Linked DNA regions of Homo sapiens: all the other regions are linked to region 2. Evidence: promoter capture Hi-C in 16 types of primary human blood cells and fetal thymus (Javierre and others, 2016). All regions are on one chromosome and are shown on one strand. The core of a region is centred on a gene start or on the middle of the fragment in contact, and the rest is flanking DNA. Distances in the headings are between cores, read along the strand shown.

What was found. Contacts are between HindIII fragments. The CHiCAGO score rates a contact against its expected background, and 5 or more counts as called.
Region 1: a fragment that was not itself captured here is called in contact with the fragment with the promoter of HLX in region 2 in 1 of 17 cell types (neutrophils); the score reaches 6.7 in neutrophils.
Region 3: a fragment that was not itself captured here is called in contact with the fragment with the promoter of HLX in region 2 in 9 of 17 cell types (neutrophils, monocytes, total B cells and 6 more); the score reaches 18.0 in neutrophils.
Region 4: a contact is called between a fragment that was not itself captured here and the fragment with the promoter of HLX in region 2, in 1 of 17 cell types (neutrophils). The highest score is 5.5, in neutrophils.
Region 5: a fragment that was not itself captured here is called in contact with the fragment with the promoter of HLX in region 2 in 2 of 17 cell types (neutrophils and monocytes); the score reaches 9.5 in neutrophils.
Region 6: a fragment that was not itself captured here is called in contact with the fragment with the promoter of HLX in region 2 in 3 of 17 cell types (neutrophils, monocytes and M2 macrophages); the score reaches 8.4 in neutrophils.
Region 7: a fragment that was not itself captured here is called in contact with the fragment with the promoter of HLX in region 2 in 10 of 17 cell types (neutrophils, monocytes, M0 macrophages and 7 more); the score reaches 26.8 in neutrophils.

Annotation. Positions count from the first base shown.
Region 1 is chr1:221,280,974-221,284,777 of GRCh38, forward strand. No RefSeq gene overlaps it. Among named protein-coding and RNA genes, the nearest start is that of LINC02817, 53 kb to the right of the region's middle. The HindIII fragment of the contact is 2,795 bases long and covers 121-2,915 here.
Region 2 is chr1:220,877,304-220,881,494 of GRCh38, forward strand. It overlaps HLX (H2.0 like homeobox), which reads left to right and starts at 2,140. Exons shown (of 4, transcript NM_021958.4): 1 at 2,140-3,146; 2 at 3,891-4,070. The coding sequence starts at 2,555. It overlaps HLX-AS1 (HLX antisense RNA 1), which reads right to left and starts at 2,837. Exons shown (of 3, transcript NR_046901.1): 1 at 2,546-2,837. RefSeq lists a silencer at 1,697-1,746 and an enhancer at 2,865-3,473. The HindIII fragment of the contact is 7,579 bases long and covers 698-4,191 here.
Region 3 is chr1:221,180,922-221,185,181 of GRCh38, forward strand. No RefSeq gene overlaps it. Among named protein-coding and RNA genes, the nearest start is that of LINC02817, 150 kb to the right of the region's middle. The HindIII fragment of the contact is 338 bases long and covers 1,421-1,758 here.
Region 4 is chr1:221,249,312-221,253,397 of GRCh38, forward strand. No RefSeq gene overlaps it. Among named protein-coding and RNA genes, the nearest start is that of LINC02817, 85 kb to the right of the region's middle. The HindIII fragment of the contact is 316 bases long and covers 2,318-2,633 here.
Region 5 is chr1:221,139,950-221,144,026 of GRCh38, forward strand. No RefSeq gene overlaps it. Among named protein-coding and RNA genes, the nearest start is that of LINC02817, 190 kb to the right of the region's middle. The HindIII fragment of the contact is 370 bases long and covers 1,151-1,520 here.
Region 6 is chr1:221,227,126-221,231,192 of GRCh38, forward strand. No RefSeq gene overlaps it. Among named protein-coding and RNA genes, the nearest start is that of LINC02817, 110 kb to the right of the region's middle. The HindIII fragment of the contact is 1,565 bases long and covers 1,880-3,444 here.
Region 7 is chr1:221,163,731-221,167,597 of GRCh38, forward strand. No RefSeq gene overlaps it. Among named protein-coding and RNA genes, the nearest start is that of LINC02817, 170 kb to the right of the region's middle. RefSeq lists a silencer at 3,336-3,455. The HindIII fragment of the contact is 1,801 bases long and covers 1,262-3,062 here.

The sequences.
Region 1 (3,804 bases), core at 268-2,767, 400 kb after region 2:
TATATACCCAGTAATGGGATGGCTATGTTGAATGGTGGTTCCATTTTAAATTCTTTAAGAAATCTCCAAACTGCTTTCCACAGTGGCTGAACTAATTTACTTTCCCACCAACAGTGTATAAGCTTTCCCTTTTGGGTAGCTTTGCCAACATTTTTTTGTTTTCTGACTTTTTAATAGTAGTCATTTTGATTGGTATAAGATGGCATCTCATTGTAGTTTTGATTTGCATTTCTGTAATGATTAGTGATGTGCAGCATTTTTTCATATGTTTGTTGGCCACTTATATGTCTTCTTTTGAGAAGTGTCTGTTCTTGTCTTTTGACCATTTTTAATGGGATTATTTGTTTTTTGCTTGTTGTTATGTTATTTATAAATTATGGATATTAAACCTTTGTTGGATGCGTAGTTTGCAAATATTTTCTCTCATTCTGTATGTTGTCTGTTTACTCTGTTGACAGTTTCTTTTGCTGTACAGAAGGCCCTTAGTTTAATTAGGTCTTCTTTGTCAATTTTGGGTTTTGTTGCAATTGCTTTTGAAAACTTAGTCATAAATTCTTTCGTAAGTCCCATGTCCAGAATGGTGTTTTTTAAGTTTTCGTCTAGAATTCTTATAGTTTGAGGTCTTACATTAAAATCTTTAATTCATCTTGAGTTAATTTTTGTACATGGCGAAAGTTAGGCATCCAGTTTCATTCTTCTGCATGTGGCTCACTAGCTATATCAGCACCATTTATTGAATAGGGAGTCTTTTCCCCATTGCTTATTTTTCTCTACTTCGTTGAAGATCACATGGTTGTAGGTGTGTGGCTTTATTTCTGGGTTCTCTATTCTGTTCCATTGGTCTATGTGTCTCTTTTTGTACCAATACCATACTATTTTGGTTACTGTAGCCTTGTAGTATAGTTTGAAGACTGGTAATGTGATGGGTTTGCTTTTTTTTGTTGTTGTTGTTGTTTTTTTGCTTAGGTTTGCTTTGGCTATTCGGGCTCCTTTTTGGTTCCATATAAATTTTAGCGTATTTTTTTTAATTCTGTGAAAAATGACATTGGTATTATAGTTTGATAGGAATCAGGTTGAATCTGAAAATTGCTTTGGGCAATATGACCTTCTTAATGAAATTGAGTCTTCTAATCCATGAGTATAGAATGTTTCTTCATCTGTTATCTGTGATTTCTTTTAGCAGTGTTTTGTAGTTCTCCTTGTAGAGATCTTTCGCCTGACTGGTTAGATGTATTCCTAGGTATTTAATTTTTTGTGGCTAGTATAAATGGGATTATGTTCTTGATTTGGCTCTCAGCTTGAAAATAATTGGCGTATAGAAACATCATTTGTTTTTAGAAGGATTATTTAGGATGTCTGCTCTATCAAATTTCTGCAAACACAAGATTCTCCTGATGTCCTGAAATTTTCTTTCTTGGCTTGAGATCTCTCTAATACTCCCTCTGACCATCTTTTCTAGTTTCTTCATTGGATCCTTCTTGTCTGCTCATTACCCAGAGGGCAATGTCCAATAGTGTTCTATCCTTTACCCTCTCCCAATCTGCTTAAAAACACATCCTGCCCATTGCCTTCAGCTAACTGTATGCCAATTCCTCAAAACTATGCACTGTCTACCCAGAGCAATCTTTGGAGCTCTGCATTTTTGTATCTACAGGTCTTTTTAATTTAGCATCTCAAGCTCAACATGTCCAAAATTGACTCCCTCCTCCCACTCTCTTCTTTTATTTTTTTGTTTGGGAAAATGATACCAACATTCATCTTGTTAATCAACATAGAAACATGGAGAGCATTATAGATTCCTTCCTCTCCCACATCCTCCACAGTCAATTGAATACTGCATCTATGATTTCTATCATCATAAAACCTCTCATCACAACTCAACTACCTAATTAATTTAAAGCATCATAATTTCTCTCCTGGATTGATGTGATAACATCCTAAATGTCTGCAATAAATCCACAGTTCTCACTGGAATCAAAGTAATATTTCTAAAACACATATGTGATCATCTCATAACCTCCCCCCTTCCCCTACCTAGAATTCATCAATGACTTTCTGCAGTGCTCAAGATAAATTCACATTCCAAGTTCATCTTGTTCTATTCCACGTTTACCCAGACTAAAGCCAAATTGAAATATTTGCAATTCCTCCAGCACATCATGTGTTCTCACAGCTTTGACTTTACACAGTTTCCTTTGCTTAAAATTTCCTTCCCCTTCCTCCTTGCCTGGCTTATACATTTTTATTTAATAGACATAATGTACATATTACCCTCCCATAAATCTTCCAAGTCTTTTACCTGCCTCACTCTGTTGAATGTCTTTGATTCATTCATTTAAGAAACATATATTGAGTCTGCATTATCTATCTATCTATCTAATCTTCTACATACTATGGTAATATGCTTGACATTAGGAAAATAATAAAGAATAAGAAACAATCCTTTTACATTACAGTGCAATAAATGCAAAGATAGCAGAGAGCACAGTGAAGGGGAACCTGAACCAGCCTTGAATGAACAGACAGGGCTTGTGAGGATGTTGTAAATAAGTAAATGTAATTGCTTCCTCTCTTAATTCTCTCCCTCTTATTTTCCCTACTGCTACCAGCCAAACATTTGTGTATAAAAGAAATTAGCATGTTTAGTTATGAAGTTTTTTATTTTCATAAATTTCTGTAGTTTAAATCAGCCTGGCCTCTGCCTGTTATTGACATACTAGAGAATCATAAAACTCTGAGTAATTGTGTTCATGTGTTCCAATAGGGCTTATCCAACCCTGGGAAAATAATGGCATCTGACCCAATAAGACTAGCAAAGAGCAAACCCAAGAAAAGAGATAAACATGTATTAAATGGTAGTTTTAAATTTTTTAAAGTACATTCATTTTTGTTTTATTCCACAAAGGCACCGTGGAAGCTTTTAAAAATACACACTGTTCACTGGGATAAAATATATTATCAAGGCCATGATAATAAAGGGGAAATAGAAAAGGAATATCATAAATCTGTAATAACATTAGTACATGGAAGCAGCAGAAAAAGGCTACAAATTTGATTCTAAGCTCCTTAACAGCCCAAAGAAAGAAAGATCATGATTAGTCACAGTTCTGCATAAGAAAAATAACACAAATGACTTGTTCAGTAAGGAGCATAGTTTTTGTGAAAACTGATTCCCAAGGAATTTCTCCCATGAACGCTGAAACTGCTGTGTGATGTGGTAGACAATGTTCTTAACATGATCCCTTCAATAGCTACAATCACAGACATAATGAGTCTGTCTCATAAATATCCTTTGTTGTGGGTAGTTGGCAAAATGCCAAGGAATAAGTCAGTGAAAGCTGTTCTACAAGGAGTAGATTTCAGTAAAGCACACTGAAAATTCTAAGACTTTAGAATCAAACAGCTAAAGACTGAATCCTGGTTCAATTAAACACAAGATGTGTCAACTTGGTCCAGTTACTTCCTCTTCCTTAATTTGATTATCTGTAAAAACTAGGATAATAATACTCATCATTTGGATCGAAAGTTCAGTTAAAATACAGAATATCTAGAACCATAAAAATCAACATCCATCAAACTCATATACCATCCCAGGCACTATGCTAAGTACTTTACATGGATTATCTGATTTAATCCTCACAAAAATTCCTTTACATGAGTACTATAATTATTCCCATTTACCAACTAGGAAACTGAGATTAGAGAGGTTAAATCGTTTGCCCAAAACCACAGAGCTAGGATGAGGGGAGCTGAGCTCATCAGCCCCGGCATACTGATTTTAGAGTTCACGTTCTTAAAGCATTC
Region 2 (4,191 bases), core at 890-3,389:
GGCCTCGGGGCCTCGCTTTCGCCGCATCTGCCCAGCGCTCCGGGCCTTGAATCTCGGCAGATGCGAGTTGTGGGCACCTAGGGAACCCTGAGGACTCGCATTCCCCCGGGTCTGTATCCCGTGCCCACCCCGGAGCGTCGCAAACCTTGGAAAGGGTGAAAGCTGATAGGGGAGTCTTATTTCTTAAGAGAGAGGGTGAGGGCGCGCGGCGCTGCCTCGGGTAAGGAGTAAATGCACCTCTTTCACAACCGTGAGTTTGGGCTTAGGCTGAGGTCTAAATGTTTGCAGTCAAATTAGAAACGCAATCAAACTGGAAGTGGCACTAGAAAGCAGAGGGCTCACGGCCTCCGCTACGCACACTCCCACCGAAGGCTCACCAGAACCCTCAGCCAGCGCCTCAATTGCCCATGTTGTACTTGTCGCTCCTTTGCCTTCACCTTGACACAGAAAAACTGGTCTTAATACGTCTCTCGCCCCAGGTACCCCTACCTTCAGCCAAACACACCCATCTATCTCTGGAAATAGCACCTCTCTCCTGGTTGCGTGGAGCAGGGGAAGAAAACCTTTCAGTAAAAGAGAGATGGAGAGCGAGAGCGGGAGAGCTGGAGGGCGGGAGGAGGGAGAGAGAGAGGGAGAGGGAGAGATCTTAGTGCTGGCTGATCAGAAGTGATTGATAATTTTCCAGGAGAAAGTCAAAAGCTTAAAAGGATAGCATCTGCATCAAGGGGCTAGAGAAAACACCAGAAATTAATTTTATAAGCCCAAACCCTGAACTCGAGATAGGCATGGCAAGTTCACTTGCTTTTCTGGGTTTATTTGGTGAGGAGCCTTCGTGCTGAAGGGAAATAAAAATGTCACAGAATCCCTGTTAGGAGATGCTTATTAGGGCAATCGAAAACAAAAGTTTTCGTGGTTTCATTATTCGTATTATTTTATTTTCTTCCTGAAAATGTGCAAGAACAGCTCATCTGGGTGGCCTGTGGTTTGTTTGGGAGAGGGGTGGGGAAATTCATTCTGACTATAATTTAAAGAGAAGAAATTCTTAAAATAGATATGTCGATGTTGCACAAAACCTCCACCACCACTACCCTGCGTTCTAAAGACCCAAGGCACGAATGGAAGACGTTGACCACCACGCAGCTCCTCCTGCAACCAGGCCCAAGGGGTTCCTGGGGAAGCTGTCACAGAATTGAAAGCAGTATTGAACCCCACGGAAATCTGCTCTTGTGGGCACTTGCAAAACAACGAACCCCACGTGATCCGGAGATGTGGTGGAGGGGTGAGGCTAACATTTCCTACAACCTCCTGCAAAGGATGGAAGCGCGTGCCGCTCTCCCGGGTTTCGGGAGGCAGCCTGTTTTGTAGCCTCTGAGGCTCCGGGGAAAGGTTTGGCTGCGTCTAAGAGAGACGTTTGGAGCCATCCGTCTTATTTTGTTTGAAAAGTCACTCGTTCAATTTGTCACTGTGTGACAGCTCAGAATAAAACCAATTTGCGGCCGCCCCTCCTCCTCGCTTCCCGGAGGATCTCCTGGGAGGCACGAGGCGGACGCGGTGCTGAGTTGGGCCGGGACTCAGGGCGGCAACATTTGGGCAAGGGCCCAGGAAAGATGAGGGGCTTTGCCGAGGACACGGACTCCTGGAATAAAAGCAGAATGAGGTCAAGAGAAGGGAAGCAAAGGGGCCAAAGCGCGCTCCGCTCTCCACCGGGAGGCGGGCTTTGCAGAGCCCTAAAGAGTGAGATTACCGTCCCTTCCCCACGCCCCCAACTCGCCCCGGGTGACAAGCGCTTCAGGAAAGCTCCTGTGATCAACCCTCCTTGCCCCGTGGCGGTTCGGAGCTGCAGAAGTTAGAAGAGAGTCAGAGCCCTCCGGAGCGGCTGCCTGGCCCCTACGCAGAGTAGCAAGAAGCACTGCGATGTGCGCTACTAAGCCCACGCGGCCGCAGCAAAAACTTTGGCGTGGCCGGGGCGTGGCTAGGGTCCGGCCAGGCCCCCTTGTTCCTAATTCCCCTCCACTCCCCGCTCCCATTGGTCACGAGGATGACCAATGAGCGCTCGGATCGAGGTCCTACCCCGGGCCTGACTCGAAAGCTCCTGCCAAAACTTTGGGAGTTTTTAGAGACGAGTTTTTTTTTTTTTCTATTACTTTTCCCCCCCCCTAACTAACGGACTATTATTGTTGTTGTTTTAAATTTAGCTCTTAGGGCTTAGCTATTTGGGTTTTCTTGCGGTGTCCGGCTCCCGTCTCCCTGGCTCCCCCGCCCGCCCTGCGGCCCCAGCGCCCCTCGCTCTCATCCAGCCCGCGAGGAGTGCGGGCGCCGCGCCGCCTTTAAAGCGAGGCCAGGGAGCGAGGCGGTGACCGGCCGAGATCCGGCCCTCGCCTCCTCCCTCGGTGGCGCTAGGGCTCCCGGCCTCTCTTCCTCAGTGCGGGCGGAGAAGCGAAAGCGGATCGTCCTCGGCTGCCGCCGCCTTCTCCGGGACTCGCGCGCCCCTCCCCGCGCGCCCACCCACCCAGTCCGGCTGGACTGCGGCAGCCGCGCGGCTCACCCCGGCAGGATGTTCGCAGCCGGGCTGGCTCCCTTCTACGCCTCCAACTTCAGCCTCTGGTCGGCCGCTTACTGCTCCTCGGCCGGCCCAGGCGGCTGCTCCTTCCCCTTGGACCCCGCCGCCGTCAAAAAGCCCTCCTTCTGCATCGCAGACATTCTGCACGCCGGCGTGGGGGATCTGGGGGCGGCCCCGGAGGGCCTGGCAGGGGCCTCGGCCGCCGCCCTCACCGCGCACTTGGGCTCGGTTCACCCGCACGCCTCTTTCCAAGCGGCGGCCAGATCCCCGCTTCGACCCACCCCAGTGGTGGCGCCCTCCGAAGTCCCGGCTGGCTTCCCGCAGCGGCTGTCTCCGCTCTCAGCCGCCTACCACCACCATCACCCGCAACAACAACAGCAGCAGCAACAGCCGCAGCAGCAACAGCCTCCGCCTCCGCCCCGGGCTGGCGCCCTGCAGCCCCCGGCCTCGGGGACGCGAGTGGTTCCGAACCCCCACCACAGTGGCTCTGCCCCGGCCCCCTCCAGCAAAGACCTCAAATTTGGAATTGACCGCATTTTATCTGCAGAATTTGACCCAAAAGTCAAAGAAGGCAACACGCTGAGAGGTAGGTCTTGGGCGGGAGGCTGCAGGCCTCTGACCACTGACCCACTCCCCGGACCCCGGGCTGGCTTGGGGTGCCTTTGAGTGTTTTTACAATTAAGGACAAATCGGTAAAACGGGAGAGAAGAAAACGAATTGTAAGAAAACTACAAAACATTAGGTCTAAAACTCACCTGTTCTATGTAAAACAAACAAAAAATGACTCCAGGGATTCTTTAAAAACACGTCTTAGAATCAATATTTATAAAAGTGGTTGGTGTAATTATCTGCTAACATGACTTTGATCTCTTTAATAATGTATCTAGAGACAGAATTATATTTTCTGACAGCTAAAGCATTTTTGGGAAACACTTTCGCACTTATCTGATTTCTAGTAAAAATTTCACCCAGGAAATGTAAATAATAAACAAAACCGCCTAGATGAGCGGGCAGAGTGGGGCCACCTTGGGGCGGAGGTTTTGCGTCTGTGGCGTTCTTGGAAGACACGTGAAAGTGAGGCCGTAAGCCGATTTATGTAAAGCCTTTACTTACTATATACATGCATATGGACGTGAGGGACACACAGGAACTTTTCGTGCGTCGCTCCTTGGCAACTGTTGGGAGAGAGAGGTTTCAGCGCCTAGACGGGTTCTCTCTTGACTTCGCTCAATAAAAGTGAATCCAGGGCAAGGGGAAGGGGAGGAACAAATCAGCGGAGAGTGTGAGTGTGCCCGAGATGTAACCTGCTATCCTTTTCCCTTGTCCCCAGATCTCACTTCCCTGCTAACCGGTGGGCGGCCCGCCGGGGTGCACCTCTCAGGCCTGCAGCCCTCGGCCGGCCAGTTCTTCGCATCTCTAGATCCCATTAACGAGGCTTCTGCAATCCTGAGTCCCTTAAACTCGAACCCAAGAAATTCAGTTCAGCATCAGTTCCAAGACACGTTTCCAGGTACGGAAAAACTCCAGAGTACTGCCTAACGGGCGAGCCGACTAACAGTCAGAAATCTCAGGACTGACGCCTCCAGGGCTGCCACGGTGTCGCAATCTCACAATTGGGGCGGGAGGCTACG
Region 3 (4,260 bases), core at 340-2,839, 300 kb after region 2:
GGGAGGAACTATTAGGTAATTTATACTTCAGATATGGAACATTAATCTCAGTTTAACAGCAGGCTTAGTGAAACAGCAATCTTTTTTTTTATAAAGAGGGACTTAATTTATAATTTTCTTAGCAGGAGCATTAAAGAAATGATATGCAATCATCAAATTATGTGTCCAGAAAGAATTATTAACAAAATGTGAACCATCTCCTAGATAGAGAATTATTCAGTTGATTATAATTTAGTCTCTTTAGCCTGAATGGTGATTCACAAAACTAATGGCATGTCTTCATGGTCTTGTGTAGAAGGAGCAAAGGGAGGAGAGTGGAGGAAGAGAATAGAAAGCACAAAGACAGACAGATAGCAGCTTTCACAATTGTTAGCAATTTCATGAAGTCCCAAACTAGAATATATAGATATGGATTTAATTCATGAATATGCATGAATATACGTGGCCCTTCAACTAGGCTTGGGAATGCCCAGTGATGGCTTTCACTGAATCCAGTTTTCTAATCCTCTGCCATGACACAAACTTAAACTAATCAAGCAATCAACTGACCAACAACAAATAGATTCACTCATTCATCAATGTATTTTAATTGAGCACTGACTATGCACAGCACACTTGGTTAGGCTTGCACTGCCATGGAGAGAAACACTCGTACACACATGAAGATTATCATCTAGTAGGGTAAGTTTCAAACAAATACAGAAAGAGATTGTAATGTTGAAGCTGAATGAGTTCCCTGAAGACGGTTTATATATGTTTATGAAAAACATAATAAAGATATTAAGCATAGTCAAGAAATGAAGGAAAGATCTCTTTCTCTCACTACAAAGCGACAACTGGCCTCAGAAATAGGCTGAGTAGGAGATAACTAGGTAAAGAGGGGAGGAAAGAGTGTTCTAGACAGAAGAGTAGCATGTACCAAGACCTATGGAGTCAAAAACTGCCATAGGCAGTCCAAGGCAGGCCCCTGGGGCTGAATTCACTGCATGCACCCCACCTCCAGGTCCAACTCATGGCTCCCTCTTTTGTCTCCCACAGTCCAGCCATCTAGGGCTTTTAGTAGCAGGAAAGATAATCCTTGGTTCCTGGCACATTTTCGTCATTGCCCTCAGCAAGGGTTCTCTTGCTTTGAACTTTATAGGTGTGTCTATATGTATTCAGTTACTTTTTGCATGTATTTATTCTCCATTGCCCACTGGCTCTCTTCAGGATTTGTTATGTGTCCTTCAAATTGTATGTATCCTGAAATAGTGTTGTTTTCTGTATGTATGGATGAATTTTTAAATTTTCATAAAAATTATTGCACTATAAATTTCGTAGTTTCTTAATTTTGCTTTAAAGAAAGCATTGCTTTTAAATCTATTCATGGTGCCATGTATTCCACGTGCCATGTCTAACTTCTGTGTAGTATTTCTGGGTAAGCTTCCATCACATTCTGCTTACCCATTCCTTGAGGTACCTTTTCCTGATACCACAAAATCCTGGGGTGAACCTCCTCCTCTGGATCAGCCAGCATTCAGTTAGAGAAGCAGATGCACTAGGAAGGATATAAAATAAGGAGTTTATTATCAGGTCTTGAACTTATGCCATTTTTATAGCTGGTTAAATGGCTTATATACAGTTGTTGTTTCTGTAGGTGGTACTGGGGCTGAAGTCAGCAGGGCAGGGAGCTGGGAAGGAAAGACAGACAGAAAGTAAGGGAAAGCAAAGACTCACTGGAAACTGCAAGGATGACCTGAACCTCTCTTGCTGCCTCCAAGCTTCTTGATGGTGTGGTGACTGCAGGAGAAGCTGGAGCCCATTGTGGTGGAACTAAACACCTATCTGGCCCAGGATTTGGAGGAGGAGGAGGAGGAGGAGGAGGAGGGGAATGAGGAGGAGGAGGAGGAGAACAAAGAGAAGAAGGAGGAGGAGGAGGAGAAGGAGGAGGAGGAGGAGGAGGAGGAGGAGAAAAAAAGTTGGAGGGGTGTAAGCTCAGCTGTTTCCCAGGAGGTGGAGGTGCTCATTGCTGGCCTAGGATGGAGAAGGTGAAGGAGAAAATCTGGCAGGAACTGCAGGAACTGCGGCCAGCAAGGTGAGCCAGCACATCAGGGACGATATGCATAAGCTCCTGTAGGCCTGGTGCCCTACACAGAATTTCCAAATGGAATAGGTTATGTTAGCTGCTTCCTTTCTGTCTTCCAGATCTTATGTGAAATGTCCCCAAGGCCCAGATTAATTCAGAATTATAGAAGAGAATTCTAGGAAAAGTAGTTGTATCTTAGTTGTCACAGTTCAAATCCACTGTGCACACTATTGTGTGTTGTGGACCCATGTGGGCAGCTTTTTGCAGCAGACTTCTCAGAACTGGACTGCTTAGTCACAGAGTGTATGTGCACTCAGTTTGACAACACAGTGTCACGTCATTCATCATAAAGGCTATACCAGGCAATACTCCCAGCTGCAGGGACAAGAGTTCCTGTCTTTTAGCATTAAACCACTTCCCTACTTCTGTAGATCTGACAGACGTAAAGCAGTATCTTATTTTAATTCAAATTCAAATTGGTCTGATTTGTCATACATTTTAACATCACTGCATATACTTGTTAACTGTGAGAGTGTCATGTTTTTTGAGTAGCCTGTTCATATTCTTTGTCCATTTTTCTACTGAGATTTTTATATTTTTCATTTTGATTTTCAGAAAGTCTTTTTGTATTCTAGGTATTCATCATATATTGATTTAGGTGTTGAAAATATCTTTTCCTAATTGTCACTTTCTGTGAAATTTCTCTAGAGTGTCTTTTGTTAAACAGAAATTCTTAATTTTGATGTAATAAATATTTTCCATCTAAAAGATTTCTAATTTAGGTAACTTACATTTCCTTTATCTACCCAAATCTATGATTCATTTTGATACTTCTTTTTAATACTATTAATTTGGGAGTATTGCAGGGAAAATCCCCAAGAAAGATTAGATTAAAATGAAATAATTATAGATAAAAGAGGAAGCATTAAATAACATTGATTTCATTCTCAAACTCTTTTCTATGTAGATGATTGTGTCATTTGCGAATAGAGACAATTGTATTTCTTATTTTGTAATCTTTATGCCTTTTGTTATTTTTGAGCTTTATTAACCTGGTTAACACCTTCAAAACAATATTTCATCGAAGTGGTAGAAGCAGATATCCTTGTTTTATTCCCAATTTTAGGGCAAAAACATTCAGTCTTTCATCATTAAGTATAATTTTAGATTTGGAGTTTTGTATATGCCATTTATCAAGTCAAGGAAGTGCCTTTCTATTCCTAATGTGAAAGTTATTTTCATGAACGGATGCTGAATTTTGTCAAATGCTTTATCTACATCTGTTTATAGTCATATTTTTCTCAGGGTATTGAAATGGTGAATCATATTCATTAATGGTCAAATATTAAACAACCTTAACAACCTTGCATTTCTGCCAGGTTTCTTTTTTTAGCACCTTAATCTCATGGATACCTGTATTAAAAAAAAAAAAAAAAAACTCTAGTTGAGTTTTCTTTGTTGCTAAACTGGATTATAGAGCCTATTAAGTATAAAGCCAGAGAGGCAGAGAGAGAGAGAAAGTTTGGGTGGGGGAAATGTAGGATTAAGAAAAGGGAATAAGAGGAGTTGAGAGTTTGGAGAGTGGAGAAGAGAAAGTGGTTTTCAGTTTTGCAGTTTAGAACGTTTGATGACTAATGGGAATTTTCCACTAACTGTGTCCTTCTGAAGAGAATACCCAGGTAAAAAGCCAGATTAGAAGTTGAGGTTTTAGGACTGGCTTTTTGAGTGACTCTTGGTTAAGTGCTTCAGATTTGTTGGTGACAGACGTGCAAATGAGGAAAGTTTCTTGGTATAAAAAAGACAACATGCAAAATATATAATTCAAAAACTAATACACCTATAAAAAGAATGTATCCCTCCATAATTAGGTGGAAGATTTTTAGCCTGACTTTCTCAGAAAATGACAGAAGGAGTATAAATAGAATACACAGATAGATGATAGATGGATAGATAAGTAGATAGATAGAGATCGAGGGGGTGGTATTTGAATAATGTAATTATCTTTTTTGGTTGCATATATACATGTATATATAATATACATAAATACAGAAGTACATATATATCTAAAGTCATGCATGTGTATTTATGTTTATGTGTATGTATGTATATTTTTTCTTCATCCAAGAAAAAATACATGTGCTTTTCAACCTAGACAGATTGTTTACATAAATCGAACATATAAGTCAAAAAAGAAG
Region 4 (4,086 bases), core at 1,226-3,725, 370 kb after region 2:
ACAAGTAAGGTAGGCAAACCTGTACACCCTTAAGTCACAAGGGTGATAGGCAGGCAGCAAAGACAATGCTACTTCCTCCAGAGGGCAAGTGAAACAATTTAGGTTACTACAGAAATTACTAGACAAAACAGCTTATTACTTTCCAGATCGTGCCTTTACTCTGATTTTTAAAAATGTTAGCATTTTAAAAGATCAATAGATATTGTATCAGATTGTGGGAGCTGGCACGTCTGAGGGCTGGACACAGGGACAGGAATTGTTGGAGTCTTGAGGCAGAATATATTTTTCTCTAAGAAACCTCAGTAATTGTTCTTAAGACTCTAAACTGATTGGATGAGGTCCACTCACATTATTGAAGGTAGTCTTCACTTAAAGTTAACTATTATTAGGTTATCTGCCATGACTTTCAATGGCAAAAACCGCAATTACTTTCGCACCAACCTATAATTGTAGCTGTTCTATCTACAAAATACTTTCATGGCAGCACCTACATTAGCATTTGATTAGGTAACTCTAAGCTATTCTCTAGCCAAATTGATACATAAAACTAACCATCACAAATATAATAAGAGTAAAATACATTAAAGTTCTGTAGCTGATTTAACAAAGGGCTCTTCAAATACTCTTCATTGGTATTAAAGATTAAACGACACAAAACAAATTCACAAAATCTTTTGATATATAGTACACATTAAATCAGCTGATTCATGAGCCAGACTCATTCGGATTCTTATAATGCAATAATGGCTTTTCTCATGGTAGTATTCTAGCTAGGCTTTCAATCATGACATGAAATTCAGTACAAAAATACTTTTTGAACTAGGAGTCATTCATTCTCACAAGGGTTTTTGGAGCTGGCGAATGAGTAAATGCATGAGTGAGCATTCTTGTCGAGTGGTCTTATTTAAGTGTATTGTCTAGAGGTGCCTGGTTTAGAGTCTGATTGTCAATACAAACACTTGTAAAGATAAATTATTATTGGAGTTAAAATATATTGAGGTCTTACTATGTTCTTGGAAATGCTAAACACCTTATACGATAATCTCATTTAATCTCTACTGCAATCCTATGAGGTAGGAGCAATGTTTGCCTTCATTTTATTGTTTAGTCCCTTGGACTATAAAGTCCTTAACATCATGAATCATCTCTGCTACTTCCATTGTCTCACTTCTCACACTCTGGTTCAGAGCTTCATTCCAGTTGGGTCTAAAGCAGAGCTGATTATTAGACAGGCCAAGTTCATTAAAAGTCTTGCTTTTAAAAGAGGCCTGAGAGGGCTCACTTTAGCTATCCAAGGAGTAATAAACCTGTGTCTTTTCAACTGAACCTTTAATTGTGATGCTGCCAAAACCAAAGTACCTTGGGTTGGAAATCTGAATGGTGACACACTTTGATCAAAAGTGGATCTATTATTTGTGCCACACAAGTTTTGAGTTTAGGGTTCATTTCAATGTTCCCTTCAATTCAGAAAAGCATAATTTCATTTTAAGGGAAAAGAAAACAATTGCTTTAATAAAAATCTTTATGAACAAGGTTCAGAGCGTTTCTTGGACAACAAATGACTGTTACAGAGCAACATTGTGGTGAGTTAAGTGTAAATGGTTCAGAAACATGCAGATTAAATTTCCCTGAAAACACTCAAGGGCTTCCAAAATTAATGGAGGGAAAATACTTGGACAACATATATTTCAGACTTTATAGTTTTTTTTTTCTTTTTCACTCTGTTGATTTTATTTTCCCCTACAACACTTCCTAGGGTGACTTCATCTCTTGTGGTAAGGATGCTGTCAGACCAAGTTATCATTAATTCTGATGCATTCTAGGTGGCCCAAACTGGGTATCAGCTGTATTCCCTCCCTTACAGAGTTAGCTTTTTCTTTCTATTATTTGTTTTTCAATATAGGAAAGGTATAAAAATAAAAGCACAATTCAAAGTCTGTGGAAAGCTTTTAGGCCTTGTGAAAGTCCACCATCATGACACTTGAGAGATAAATGTGTGAGGTTCTTGTATGTTGAAGACTGATAAATCTTCTGTGCTTTAACTTAGAAAATATCTCAATGGATATAGATGTGGTAGGGGGATTCATAAATCAAGATTTGAAGATTCTTAGAAGGGACTTTTGAAAGGCCCTCTAGCCCATTCCCAAGCCTCAGAAATGTCTCAATAGAAAGCATGACAGAAAAATAATTATAGTCCTATTTCTTAAATGTTGCCTTAGATAAATTTTCTTCAACAGGCGTTAGAAAAATATTCCTATGTTCTCTGCCTTGTGGAGGTTCTCATAAAACTAACCAAATTCCATTTTGTAGGGATTTAAGCTTATTTTCCTTCTTTCTGTGTTTGGAGGAGGCAAATTCTGGGACACTAGTAACCGTGCCTTTTCTTATTTGGACCTTGCACTACCTTGGTCAGTGAAGTATGTCAGACATTTCTTTCTTTTCAAATATGGAAATGCTGACAATGCTCATTTTGGGATTCCGCTATGTCTCCAAGCAATATGGTCTCCAATGTTACTGAAGTACTGTAATAAATCCTTTCAATTTCAGGACATTATGTGATAGGGAAAGCAATTCACCTCATTGAATGAGTGCAAAAGCAGTAGAAAATATGGTAGCTGTCTCCTAGAACTTAAAGCTTACTTGGGGTTAAAATTTACATACATGGCTGAGTGAGGAGGTCAGCAAACTCTCTTCCCAAATTAACTACACACCTAGATAAAATGGATTAAAAATCTGTTTCTAGGACTCAAACAAAAGCATAAAAGAATCAGAGAATCCTTCATGCTTAAAAACCTTCAAATAAGAAGTTTAAGTAAGAACAATGGGAGCCAGTGATGTTCTTGCGTGGACCTGCTCCATTCCACCCCACCCACCCTCCAGCTCAGTCTGCAAGGAGGGTCTGGAAGGGCCAGGTGGGCCAGGAAAATGTGCAGCTTCACTGCCACAGCTGAAGGGGTATCACTTGATGTGGAATGGTGAGCAATGCCTACACCAAGCATGGCAAAAGTGACAATATAGGCAGTGGGAGGGCCTACATCTCTACTAGCCTAAAGGAACTATCATGGTGATAGAAGGCAATAAGTATAGCACTGCAGGGTTAGGTTTAGAACATATTCAGATGTAATATATATGGCAATTAAAGTACAAAGAGAGAAGGAGAGAAGCTTTATTAAATTTTCTATATTTTACCAGAATTAAGTTAGTATTAATTTATGAAGTTTGTGTTATAAATTATTATGTATATGTTAATCCTCAGATCAGATCGGCCACTAATACAATTATAACAAAAAAAAATCAAAAGAGGAATTAAAATGGTACATTTTTTAACACCAAAGTAATTAAAAGCAACAGAGGGCTAAAAATATAGGAGACATATAGAAAACAAAAAGCAGAGTGGCAAATATAAATCCAACTATATCAATAATTTTATTAATGTGAAAAGCCTAAACACCTTGATCAAAAGGCAATGACTGTCAGAATGGATCGAAAAGCAACATCCAACTGTATTTTAACTATAAGGAATACACTTTAGATTCAAAGACAAAAATAGGTTAGAAGCAAAGGATGGAAAACGATATACCAGGCATAAAAAAGAGCTGCAGTGGTCATACTAACATCAGACAAAATTGAATTTAACATAAGATATATCACTGGAGACACAGAAGGTCATTTTATAATGCTAGAAGTGTCAATACATCAGGAAAATATAACAATTATAAATATATACACCTAACAACAGAATTTCAAAATAAAGAAAGCAAAACCAGCCAGAATTGAAAGGGAAAATGATAATTTTACAATAACAATTGAAGATTTCAATACTATGCTTTTAAAAATCAATAGAACAACCAGACAAAAGTTTATCAAACATATAGGAGACTTGTCCTACACTTTTAGCCAACCCAACCTCTGTTTTAAAAGAACAGTCTACCCACTGATAGCAGAATATACATCTTTTCAAGCAGATGACATATACTGAATGTGGACATTCCCATGAAATTCACAGAAAATACTAGAATTAATATAGGAGTTATCAGTATACAAAATTAATTGTATTTCTATACGGTAGCAATAAATTATATGAAA
Region 5 (4,077 bases), core at 86-2,585, 260 kb after region 2:
TCATAGAGAGTATAACACAAAGAATAGGGCTTTGGAGCACAATTTTAAAAAGTCTTTGGTATTGGAATTCCAGGAGCTGGCCTGAAGAACTTCTTGGGAATAAAGACTCCAAAGAGAAGCTGAGTGTTGCTTTGGGACTGCCTGGCTGGAACTTCCCTGTTTTACTTTGATGTATGTACTGGACCAATGCTATCATGAATCCAATCATTCCTGAGAGCTGAGGAAATTCTCTCTGAAGTTTCCAGAAGCTATAAGCATTATGCTGCTGAAAAACGCATTATTTCCAGTAGTAGTTGCTTTGTGCTAAGAACCTGGCAGAATGAACTTTGTGTAGTAGTTTGGCTCAGCCACTTTTGAAACAGGCAATTGCCTTTACTAAAATAGGAACCAATGCCCTCCTTTGCCCCACATTTACACTAGATCCAAATTTTCTTAGAGACAAGCACTTGCCCTGTTTCCCAGGCTGGAGTGCAGTGGTGCAATCATAGCTCACTGGAGCCTCAAACTCCAGGGCTCAAGTGATCCTCTTGCCTCAGCCTCCCAAGTAGCTGGGACTACAGGCTTGTTGCGCTCAGCTTCTTTAAGAAGTTTCAAAATAATTCAATGCTTTTCCAAGAACATTTTCAAGCAAGAAAGTCATCAGAATAGTCTTATTCTGATTTCTTTTTAATTTTTTTATTTTTTAAATTTTATTTGTTTCAGATTTGGAGGCACATGTGCATATTTGTTACATGGGTATACTATGCACTGGTGGGGACTGGGCCTCTAGTGCATGTGGATTTCTGTTTCAGTGGTCAAGGTTAAATGAAGACATTAATAAATGGTATTTTGTAAGATTTCAGACTGATCAGAGATGGTGGTCTGGATGATGCTGGAAGCTCAGCCATAGTAATGTTGTTAATGGTGGGCTCTACTCATTAGTTAGAGCGAGTGGACTGCTAAGTTATGATAATAAAAACTCTAATATTGAACTTACTATTTATTTGAGGGCTGAGTAAGTCTTTGATAAATTTTGTAAGTTTATGATTTGGGCTGGTGGAAATAAATTATGAGTAGGATATCTATCTATATTACTCTTCTAGAGGTGAGATGAACTGAATTGTATGAAGGGAAAAAGGACAGCTAGAAGTAGTCTTTAGAAAGCTACTGAAGCTTTGATATGATTTGGCTGTGTCCCCACCCAAATCTCACCTTTAATTGTAGCTCTCATAATCCCTAAGTGTTGTGGGAGGGAGCTGGTGGGAGGAAATTGAATCATGGGGATGGGTTTTTCCCCATGGTGTTCTTATGATAGTGAGTAAGTCTCATGAGATCTGATGGTTTTATAAAGGGCAGTCCCCTTACACACGCTCTCCTGCCTATTGCCATGTAAGACATGACTTGCTCTTTCTTCACCTTCCGCCATGATTGTGAGGCCATCCCAGACATACTGAACTCTTGAGTCAATTAAACCTCTCTCCTTTATACATTACCCAGTCTCTGATATGTCTTTATTAGCAGCATGAGAATGGAGTAATATAAGCTTTCTCTAGTAAGTTGAACTAGGTCTCTAGAAATATGTGCATATTTCCTAATCTTAAGTAGAGCATAGATAACCTTAAACTAAATCATAGAGGTTTAGAGTTTGGAACATTTGCAATAATTTATTTCCATCTTTTCCAACTTTAACCCCATTTTGTAGATTATAAAAAACTGAGGAAGATGAAATGATTTTGCTATTGTCATACATCGAGTTTCTGTAAGAACACAGATTAGAACTTGACCCTTTGGTGTAATGCCGTTTCCTCTATACAACATTCCAAAGCTAATTGAGAGGGAGTGTGCCTGTGAAGGAATTCAGCTAATGGGGTATGAACTGAGGGAACCAAGTTGTGTTAAGTGAGCATGGCCAATACTGAGGATGCCTGAGGCTGAGTACTGAGGAAATGACAGTTTGAAATGGATCTGAGAGGAAAATTATTGCCATGGCAGAAACAATGTGGACAACTTTATGCTGGTGACTAATTATAACTAGAAGATTTTAAGAAGTCATTTTAATTAGCAAGTCCTTAACAGTCTAATGAGAAAAGTGAATGCTAATAAGCATGTCTGACATCCTAGACCCTGTCAAAATCCTGTCAGGAATGTGGCGAGTGGTGCTCCCGACAGGGAGGCAGTGAATGAACGACACAGGCTGACAGGGCAGGCCTCTTAAAGGGCACACACTTTTAGCGACTGATTTTTGAATAGAAGAGAAGACACAATATGAGGACATTTGGAATTTGAGTGGGGGGATTGGAATATAATCATCATTTAACTTAATAATTTATCTATGTTATTACAGGTGAACAAACAATTTCACATGCGTTTATAAACTGTGGGAAGTCTCTCTCTAACCTGTGTAGGAAGATTTCTGGTTCCAACAAGGATGATGCCCTCTTCTCTCAAATTAATCCTGGAGAAAAGAAAAAAAATTAACAGAAGTGAAACATGAATTCTAACAATGAATAAAACCAACCAACAGACTGTGGGAACACCCTGAGGGTACAGAAGACTATTTGCACTTGCGTGTGTCAGTTTCAGCCAGGGGAAGAAGGTGGCCCAAGGTGGCAGTGGAGCTTTCTGGATTCTGCTCTTGTCCTTCTCTGGCTTTACTTCAAGACAGCCATCACTCGCCTCTTCACTGCAGAGGTGACCCAGGATCACAGAGAGGCTGCATAAATATTGCTGAGGGAGGAGTTAATGAAAACAAGGGCTTCTGGACCCATTTGCCTTACCCCTACCCTTCAGACCCACAGGGCTCGTGGATTAAAATCTAGGGAGGCTACCTTCTCATAATGCATCTTCTCCTTAAGGTTTAAGGTCAAGACCTGAGCAATAGAGTTACATGATGGGTTCCTACAAATCAGGGTAATTCACAGTGGTTTGGTGATGTCTGGGATTTCCACATGGAGGCTCATTCTCTCTTTATTAACTCACTTAAACTGGGCAGGGTAGCTGGTATCCTCACGGGAAGACTTCTGGGCTAAAATGACCAGACATCTAAGGGGTACATGCATTCTCTGAAACGGAAATATTAGAAGTGGACTAAGAATTTAAAATAAATATGATAGAAACACTTAAGCTGATAAGGGAAAATACTAGCAGTGTAAGACAAAGCAATGACAACAAGTGGAATAATAAAATATGGCTTAAAAGGAAGAAAAATATATAGGAGGACAGATATAACTGAAAAAATAAATTAATGCAGTAGAACAGTTAATTGAGAAATTCTTCCAGAAGGCAGCAGGAATGTATATAAAAAAGAAAATAAATAGAGAAATTTAAAAAGCTAACAGGCATGGTGGATAGAAGTGCCAATATCTAGTATTAGAACACTCAGAAGGAAAGTGGAGATATATGGAAGGAAATAATCTGGAGAAAGAATAGAGGTAATTACTCCTACTTAAAAAAAAGACAGAAGACTTCAGTTTGAAAGGGCTAATGAATTGTCAAACATAAAAGAAAAGGAAAACCCACCCTACACATTATGATAATATCTAAGAACATCAAGTACAAAGAAAAAGTTCTACAAGTTGCCAGAAAGTGAAGATTAACTAAAATAAACAAGAATGAGATTGGTATCAGATTCCTTAACAGCAACACGGTGTGAGAAGCCAGTGAAGCAGTCCTTTTAAAATACTGAAAGAAAATAACATTGAACATAAAGCTTTACATCTAATAAAATTGCCATTTGATTGTGAAGGGTAATGAAAATATTCCCAGGTATGGAAGGTCTCAAATTTTTGTTTTATGAAAGGATACATTGAAAATGTTTTGGGGAAAGTACTGTTTAGAAGTAAATATACTCAGATATACTCAAGTATATTTAGAAGTAAATATACTTAAGATATATGCTGAAAGAGAGAAGGAGAAAGTATTTTGGGATTCTAGACAATATCAACATGATGTAGGATGTGGATCATAGGACACTAAGGGACCACGGAACCTGTCAGACCACTTCTATGTTTAGGGAGAAGACACAGATCTTGACAGACTGATTGTATTAGTTTGCTAGGGCTGCCATAACAAAGTACCACAGGCTGACTGGTTTAAATG
Region 6 (4,067 bases), core at 1,412-3,911, 350 kb after region 2:
TTTGACCACAGACCAAAGGCTGCACTGTTGGCTTCTCTACTTTTGAAGTTTTGGGACTCGGATTGGTTTCCTTGCTCCTGTTTGCAGACAGCCTATCGTGGGACTTCACCTTGTGATGTTGTGAATCAATACCCCTTAATAAATTCCCTTTCATATATATGTCTATCCTATTAGTCCTGTCCCTCTAGAGAACACTGACTAATGCAAACTGGGAATAGAGAAGGGTGCTATTGGGACTGGTCTGGTCTAGATGTCTTTCAAGGAACTAGAAAAGTAAGTCCCTGAGAGTCCCCTAAGTTAAGGTGAGGGAGTTGCCTTCAGTCAGCTCCTTGTGCCTCTCTAGTTGTTTTCACATTAACAGTATCTCTGATGATACCCATCTTCCTTGCCTTCTGCACAGAAGAACATTTATTTCCAGACTTGAACTTTGTGCTGGCAGTAACGGAAACTCCCCAGATGAGGCTTGAGTGGGCTTATGGGGCCTCTGGGCAGCCTCTCTCTCCTACCTGTCCACGGGGCTTTCGCTGGGCAGGTTGGTGGCGGAAGGGGCTGGAAGCAATGGTTCAGGATGGCTTTTTGCCTCTACTTCCTCTTTCCCTCCTCAAAGATACTCAGTGTCCATCCCTGTGTGAAGCAATCTCCGCTGAGAGAATGCACCCAAGCAGCGATGAGGGCAGGGGAGCTGCGGGGTCTCCATGTGCCCCTATATTCTTCCGCTAGTGTACTGTAGCATTGTTGCAGCCACATACGCGAAGCCCATGGGGAGCCCCTCGGCAGGGAGGCTTTGATGATTTCTTCAGACACACGGAGCAGACTGACAAATTGACTTTCAAGTGAAAGGTCAGAGCCCAGGACTGAAAGGGTAGAGCATCTGGATTCACAATTAAAACGCCTACCGAGTACACTTTGCAGCTCTGGCGTCTCGTCGTGTAGGAGGTGCTGTCAGAGGGACTTATTTGGCAGCTGTTTCTGACTCTGGATTGGGATTGAAGAAAATAAAAATTCCTTGTGGTTGTCTGTGCGTGTGTGTGTGGCGCACCTGAAACCATGTGTGGGTGTTTCAAGAGAAACCTTGCTCTTTGGCAAAAGCAAGCACAGCTAACTTTTGCTAACTCAGTTCTGCCCTAGAGCTGACCTCCAGAATGGTCTGTCCAGAGTGAGTGAATCCTCAGAAGAGTTGGCTGGTTCATCACTGTGCTGGCCTTATAAAACTGCGGATTAAACAACGCTGTGGACGGAGGTTAATCACTGATTTACTCTGTAATCTTGGCAAGTTTTCTTTTAGGATGTATAAAAGGGCTGCACCCAGACACCTGCAGAATGGAAATGTACTTGCTCTTCCAGTTGAAAAGACAGCCTGACCCCACTGATGCCTTTCCTCTATTATTAGTTGGTCGCAGGAATATTTGTTCTATTTCCAGTTTGCAGAATGTTTCCATACCCAAGGATATAGTGAGAGCAAACAGGCTATCCCTAATAAGTGCCTGAGTGCCCCATAACCCCAAAAGGTGCTCGATAGCTGGGGGCTCAGTAAACCCAAAGCTCAGCTTTCTCAGGATGCTTTATCTGCCCAGAACTTGCTTTTGAGTTCTTACTGACATAATCAAGCAGGTAGATGATAAAACCCTGTAGTGACACCATTCATTGTGGCTTGTTTACTTTACTCCCCTTCGCAGCAGTCAGCCCGGCAGGAGGTCTCTAAAACACTCCGTTGAATGATGGGATGCAAACCTCTCTCCACAGTTGAGGCTCTCTGCTTCTCCTGCTACCTCACACAGGCGCAGGTGGTTTCACTTTGGGGGGCACTTAGGAAGGGATATTTATAGCTCACTCTTCCTCTTCCTCCTCCTCCTAGCAAGCAGTCAAAATAATAAAATTAAGCTTGTGGTAGAAAGCGTTGGAGAGGGTTGCTAGAAAGAGAGGGACAGAGACGGAGGATTCAGAGGCTCTTGATTGGAAAGGACCAGCATTTTCCAATAAGTCAAAATAACAGCAAAGTCTGAGCTCCTGGCTGCACTGGTTGGGAGACAAGAATCCCTTTGCTTAATCCGACTTATGTGGCTTACTACCTACATGACCTTGGGCATGTTATTTAACCTATCCGTGCCTCAGTTTCCCTTTCTGCAATATGAGGATAATAAGGCCTATCTCACAGAGTTGTTGCAAGGATTAAATTAGCTAACACGTGAAATGTTTAGAACTGTCTCTAGCACATAGTAAGCACTACACGACTCTTGGCAAACGTCATTAATTTTATATGGATTAATTCATTGTCCTTTTTCTACCTGCCTCATCCATCTACTGACTTCAGGTAAGCATACTCTTCTTCTTTTTTTTCTTTTTTTTTTGAGGCAGAGTCTCGCTCTGTCGACCAGGCTGGAGTGCAGGGGCGCAATCTCGGCTCCCTGCAAGCTCCGCCTCCCGGGTTGACGCCATTCTCCTGCCTCAGCCTCCAGAGTAGCTGGGACTACAGGCGCCCGCCACCACGCCCGGCTAATTTTTTGTATTTTTTAGTAGAGGCGGGGTTTCACCGTGTTAGCCAGGATGGTCTCGATATCCTGACCTTGTGATCCGCCCGCCTCGGCCTCCCGTAGTGCTGGGATTACAGGCATGAGCCACCACGCCTGGCCTCCAGGTAAGCATACTCTTAATTTGAACTCTGCAATAACCTGTATGAGGGAAGCAGGGCAAGTGTAATTACCATCCTTTTACAGATGAGAAACTATGGATAAATTCTTACACAGTCCTGATTCTTACTTATATACCTATATTTTCTCTTTATTTCTCCTATTCACTTTAGCACTTTCTACTAGGTAAAAGTAGTAGATTATAGATAGATTTATATATAAAAATTGATCTAGCCACCTGTAATCTACTACTTTTTATAGTATATACTATATATAAATAAGTATAATATATAATCTACTACTTTTACCTAGTAGAAAGTTATATATATATAAAATTTGTTGTATACCAACTATATACCAGAAACTGTTGTCAGTGCTAGATATAGAAAGGTGAATGAGAAACATAAAGTCTTTGCTGTCTTGGAGTTTATAACTTCCTCTTATCTCATCTGTTAGAATCTAAGCTCCTGGCAGGGAGGAAATATGTCTAATTTATCCTTATGTCTATCAGAGTTTTCTAGCACAAAGTTTTGCTCATAGTAAGTATTCAAACAGTTGTTGCTACAAAAGTTATAGCTCACATTTGAGTGCATACTAATGTCAGACACTGTGTTGTTTTACATTATTATCTTGCAAATCCTACAGTAACAATCCTCTGAAATTGGTATTTTTAGTAGTCTTATTTTATGATGGAGAAACCAATATTGGAGATTTGCCTAGGTTCGCTCAAATAGTAAGTTGTTACAAAACTCAGTCCAGCCTTGCTTGACTCAAAATGTCATGCCTTTTGTCCTTGGAAATAAAGTTGAGATGAATAAGCTTTACTAAGTTATCTTAATAGGTAGGCTAATGGAATCCCAAAGTAGTTAAACAAGCTACTGAAATTGGCATACCTCCTTACTCCTCTCTGACCTTTTTTGCTGAACTCTTTATACTCACCCAAAGAATAAAATTTCCTACATGGGCTAGGGCATTGACCTCAGGGTTTCCTTGTTTCCCTGGCATCTATGTTTGGTAGTAAATTTATGCTCTCTTGTGTTCTGTTGGCAAGGAAGCAGCTATCTAAATACTGGGCTGTTGCCACAGCCCTGGGAAATAGAAACATTGGTCATTCTACTTGCCACACAGCCTAAAACATGCAGCCTATTTTTGGCATATGCAGAGTAAGGTATGCAGAGTAAGGCAATAATTAAACAGTAGTTTGCTTAGTGAATACGTTACAGGCCTAGGTTCTGTGAAGGCAATATGGAGTTTAAAATATTTATTTTATTTGTTTATCAATTGATGTATATGGTCCTACCTAAGTATACAGGACTTGTTTTAGTGTCTTCAGTTCACCAGAAAGATGAGTAATCTTAATTTCTACATCTAAATTTTATGGTGTTCTTTCAAAACAAATCAACCTCCTGGATAAATGTAGGGATTATTTTTTAAATGAAA
Region 7 (3,867 bases), core at 912-3,411, 290 kb after region 2:
TTTATTCACCTCTGTATCCCCAACAGTGTGTCCCATTGTGGCATTCAGTTAAAGTCTGTAAATGGATGAAGACATCCCTATAGAGTTTTATTCTTTCATAACTTGCCTTATTAAAATGACTGCCACCCAAATCTCAACTTGAGTGTTGTTTTGGCATGTGATGTGATTTCCCGAAACATGCCTTGTGGTGGATGAATCCTTCAGCTGGGTTTAAGGACCCACTGCAATATAGATTAGATAACATTCCTTTTTCTTTCTTTCTTTCTTTTTTTTTTTTTTTTAAACAATCTGTTTAATCAAGCGCAACTTCTCTTTCCCTAACCCAGGACTAAACAAGTCAGAGCTTTGCCTTTCTAATTTATCAGCCAGTAAATTACAACAGCAAAAGTCTTGTGTATGGCCAGGGATTTTCCACTCAGAGTGAAGGAGATCCTGAGGGGCCAGGCATAGTGGATTTGATATGTGACTCATGGTTTGGGTAGCATTACTTGTGAACACAAAAAGGTCAAGCAGGGAAAAGCTATATTCCATAAATAATAGAGTAAAATTAAAAGTTCCTCTCCATGACACTGGAATTTTGAATGCTGCTATAAAATGATTAATCAGAAGATGTGTCATTTGTGTAAGTAAGAAATGAAGGATAACTAAAGAAATGGGAAATAAGGCAAATTTAAAAGGCATAATTAGAATGTAAAGGAGAAGCAGCTGAAGATACCTAATTTTCATATTGTGCTGATTTTCATAAGGAGTATCATTTCTTTTTGTAGCCTAATATTCTCTATAGTTAGCAGAAAACAATAGTTTCCATATATATTTATTGTGTTTCTGGTTGTATTTCCATTCTGAAACTTAAACATTCATTTGTATGTTTATGGTTAATTACATTATGGTTAAGTGTATTAAATAATCATTCAACTTGACTTCCAGGTGTTAATTAGAAGTCTTATTCTAAACTTGAATCATTTTAAAACATTATAAATTTGCATAAAACATACAAATAAGAACCAATTATTAAAGAACTCTTACTTAAAATAAAAGAGGTAGCTAGATGGTCTCTGAGGCCACTTCCAATTCCATAAGTCCAATGACTTTAAATGGCTGTGGGAGTAGAAACAAACAGAACTACAATTCTCTTACTTCCTAATTGCTTTTTGCTCTTCCCAGCTGGCATTTTGGATTCATGTTTCACTTGTAAGGAGGTCCTTATTTCCTGTGCTTTGGTCTCTCCAACTAGATGGTAACGTCCTTGTGGCACAATCCAAGCTTCTAGTGCTTCCTGTAAGGTTCTGTGCCCAGTGGGCAGAAATGAGAATTAATGGAGTAAAAGCGATGGATTCCCTGATGTGGGCTAAATGCACTGATCATCATTTGTGAGATCTGGAATGCTTTTCTAACAGGTCTTGAATTTGACCTCTGACTTCATACCAAAATGAAGGAAGGAAATATGGCAGGTGTCCAAGAAGTGTGAAATAAAAGGATAAAAGGATGAAAGGGCCGTAGATTGTTCTCAGCTTGGGACTAGATGGAGAAGGCTCTGGGCTTTTTTGGACAAATAAGAATTTGAATTGTTTTTGAGTTTTCAATGAAGCCCATGTAGGTCCCTGAACAAGATGGCAGGATGGCAGTCAGGGTGTGAGCAATGGCTGTGCTGATGGGAAGAAGTCATCTGTTCAGTGTAGCATCTGCTTTTGTCCTATTTCCTTCTCTTGCCTTGGAGGAAAGAGATGATGGAGTCTTCTGGGCAGATTTTACAGTGATTGATTGATTCGAAGCACAGAATGTTAGTACTGGAATGCTATGGAGCTGAGGAAACAGACCAGAGAGAAGTTACTCAGCAACTTGGAACAAGAACTCTGATATTCAGATTTCCTCTGAGTCCAGTGTTCTTTTCTCCACATCACTCTGAGAATGTTCTACTTGACCTTAATCTTTTTCCTGCTTTCATCCAATCTAGGCATTCTTGTTTTTTGCTGTCTTAAACCACAGAATGTTTGAATACACACTACATTTGGGGAGGGGGGTTGTTTTGTTTTGTTTTATCTTGCTCTAGCCCTTCTGGGAGATAAGCTCATTTAATTTATCTGCAATTTAGATTATGAACAACCATCCTTCTTAGATTAGACACGTCTCATCAGAGGTCACTCCATCCTACATTTTCCTCTGGTAAAAATAAGCATTCTGAAAGGTGACCCAGTCATAGTAGGGAAGAGGAACACAGGGGACTCCCATGACTGTGATGTATGATGATATTTCTGAAGAAAGTCATAACCATTTAGAGGCCAGGTTTTGATGAATTGCAGGAAATGGCGGATTTGCAACCATTCCAGAATTCCCAGGGACTGATTGTCATCAAGCGATGATAAGAATTTTAACTAGCATATTGTGGAACCCAGATCATGGCTAGGACTCGGGCCGAAGTGTTCTGTTTGGGTCTCCTGTTATATAGCATTTGCCTCTGGGAGAAGAGCTTAAAATTATTTTTAACTTGCCTGAGTCTCATTTCTATTTATCTGCTGAGGTCAGGAATTAGCAGTAAGGGAAAAAAAAGCATACTGCAAAATGCTCTGCCATGAAGTCAGACTGCACTCATCCTCCCTCCCCTTCCAAAAGGAATATTTTCTCCCAGGAAACAAACCCACATGATGGAATCATTAACTTGGGCACAGAGCTGGCAGGGAAAGGATCAGCCTTTCTTCCTACATCATTGGGTCTCCGGCCTTCAACAGCCATTGCTGCTAAATCAAGATACAGCAGGGACGTAACTGGGCATTCTGACCACCTTTGATTTCTTGGTGGGAAACCAATAAATATCAAGATGACAGGATAAGAATGCAACTGAGCTGATGGAAAGTATTTTCCCACTATAGATTGTGATGACTTGGTTTCATTAGAACAGTTGAGGGTACAGCCGATAACTAAAAGCAACAACAGTGAACAAAGGCTTGGTGAGGAGACTAGCATCTAGGAGTTTCTCCTTCTTCTGACCCTTTGAGTAACCCCATTGCTGAAACTCTCATTATATCATTTTGAGAGTGCTGCTGATCTCTGCCATCTCATTTGTAAGCTTTTCTCCATCTCCCTCTCTGTCAAGCATGGTATTAAGCAAATAGTACACTCTCCAAACACATGTTTTAAATTGATTTCTTTCTTTTGGGTGGTAAACCCAAAGATAGGATTTTGTAGAAACAAAACCAGATCTTCCCCCTCCACAGTTATTAAATTATCCAAAGCAAGAGATATTTTTACCAAAGCCTGTAGTGTTTTAATAAGGCCAGCTATTTAGGAAGTGGTGACAATGTGCAATCTGCAAAAAGGGGAAGCCTCGGAGGTGCTGTGGTAATAATGCAGTTACTTAAAGAACATTTAAACTACAAATATCTCTGTGGTTTTTTATTTGGTTCCATATGACAGTCACTCTGAGAAATTTCTCAAACCTTGGCTAATCACTTTAAAATGTAAGGCTTAGCAAATAATCATACTTCCCCAAATGCTCTGGTCTCTTCAAACTTTACTTTTTTTTTTTGCATTCGATAAAGGTACGCAATTCAATGCAAAGAAGAGCTAGGGAGGAAAATTGAGAGCATTTTAGCAGACAGGTGGAAAAAAATAGCTATAGCCCTGAAGTTGTAGGACAGTTTCAACTATCGATATGGAAAATAACTAAAATGTGATGAAAATGTAGGAGAGTCACGTCTTTTGAAGGCCAAGCGTTTGGTTCATTGAAATTGTGGGATGTGCCTGGTTTATGTGAGTGGAAAGAAAGTTCTTGCTTACAGGGACTGAGCCCCAGTGTTCCAATGTGTGCTGGGTCACATTAAAAGAAGCAGCTGGAAGTGTGTGTGTGTGTGTGTGTGTGTGTGTGTGTGT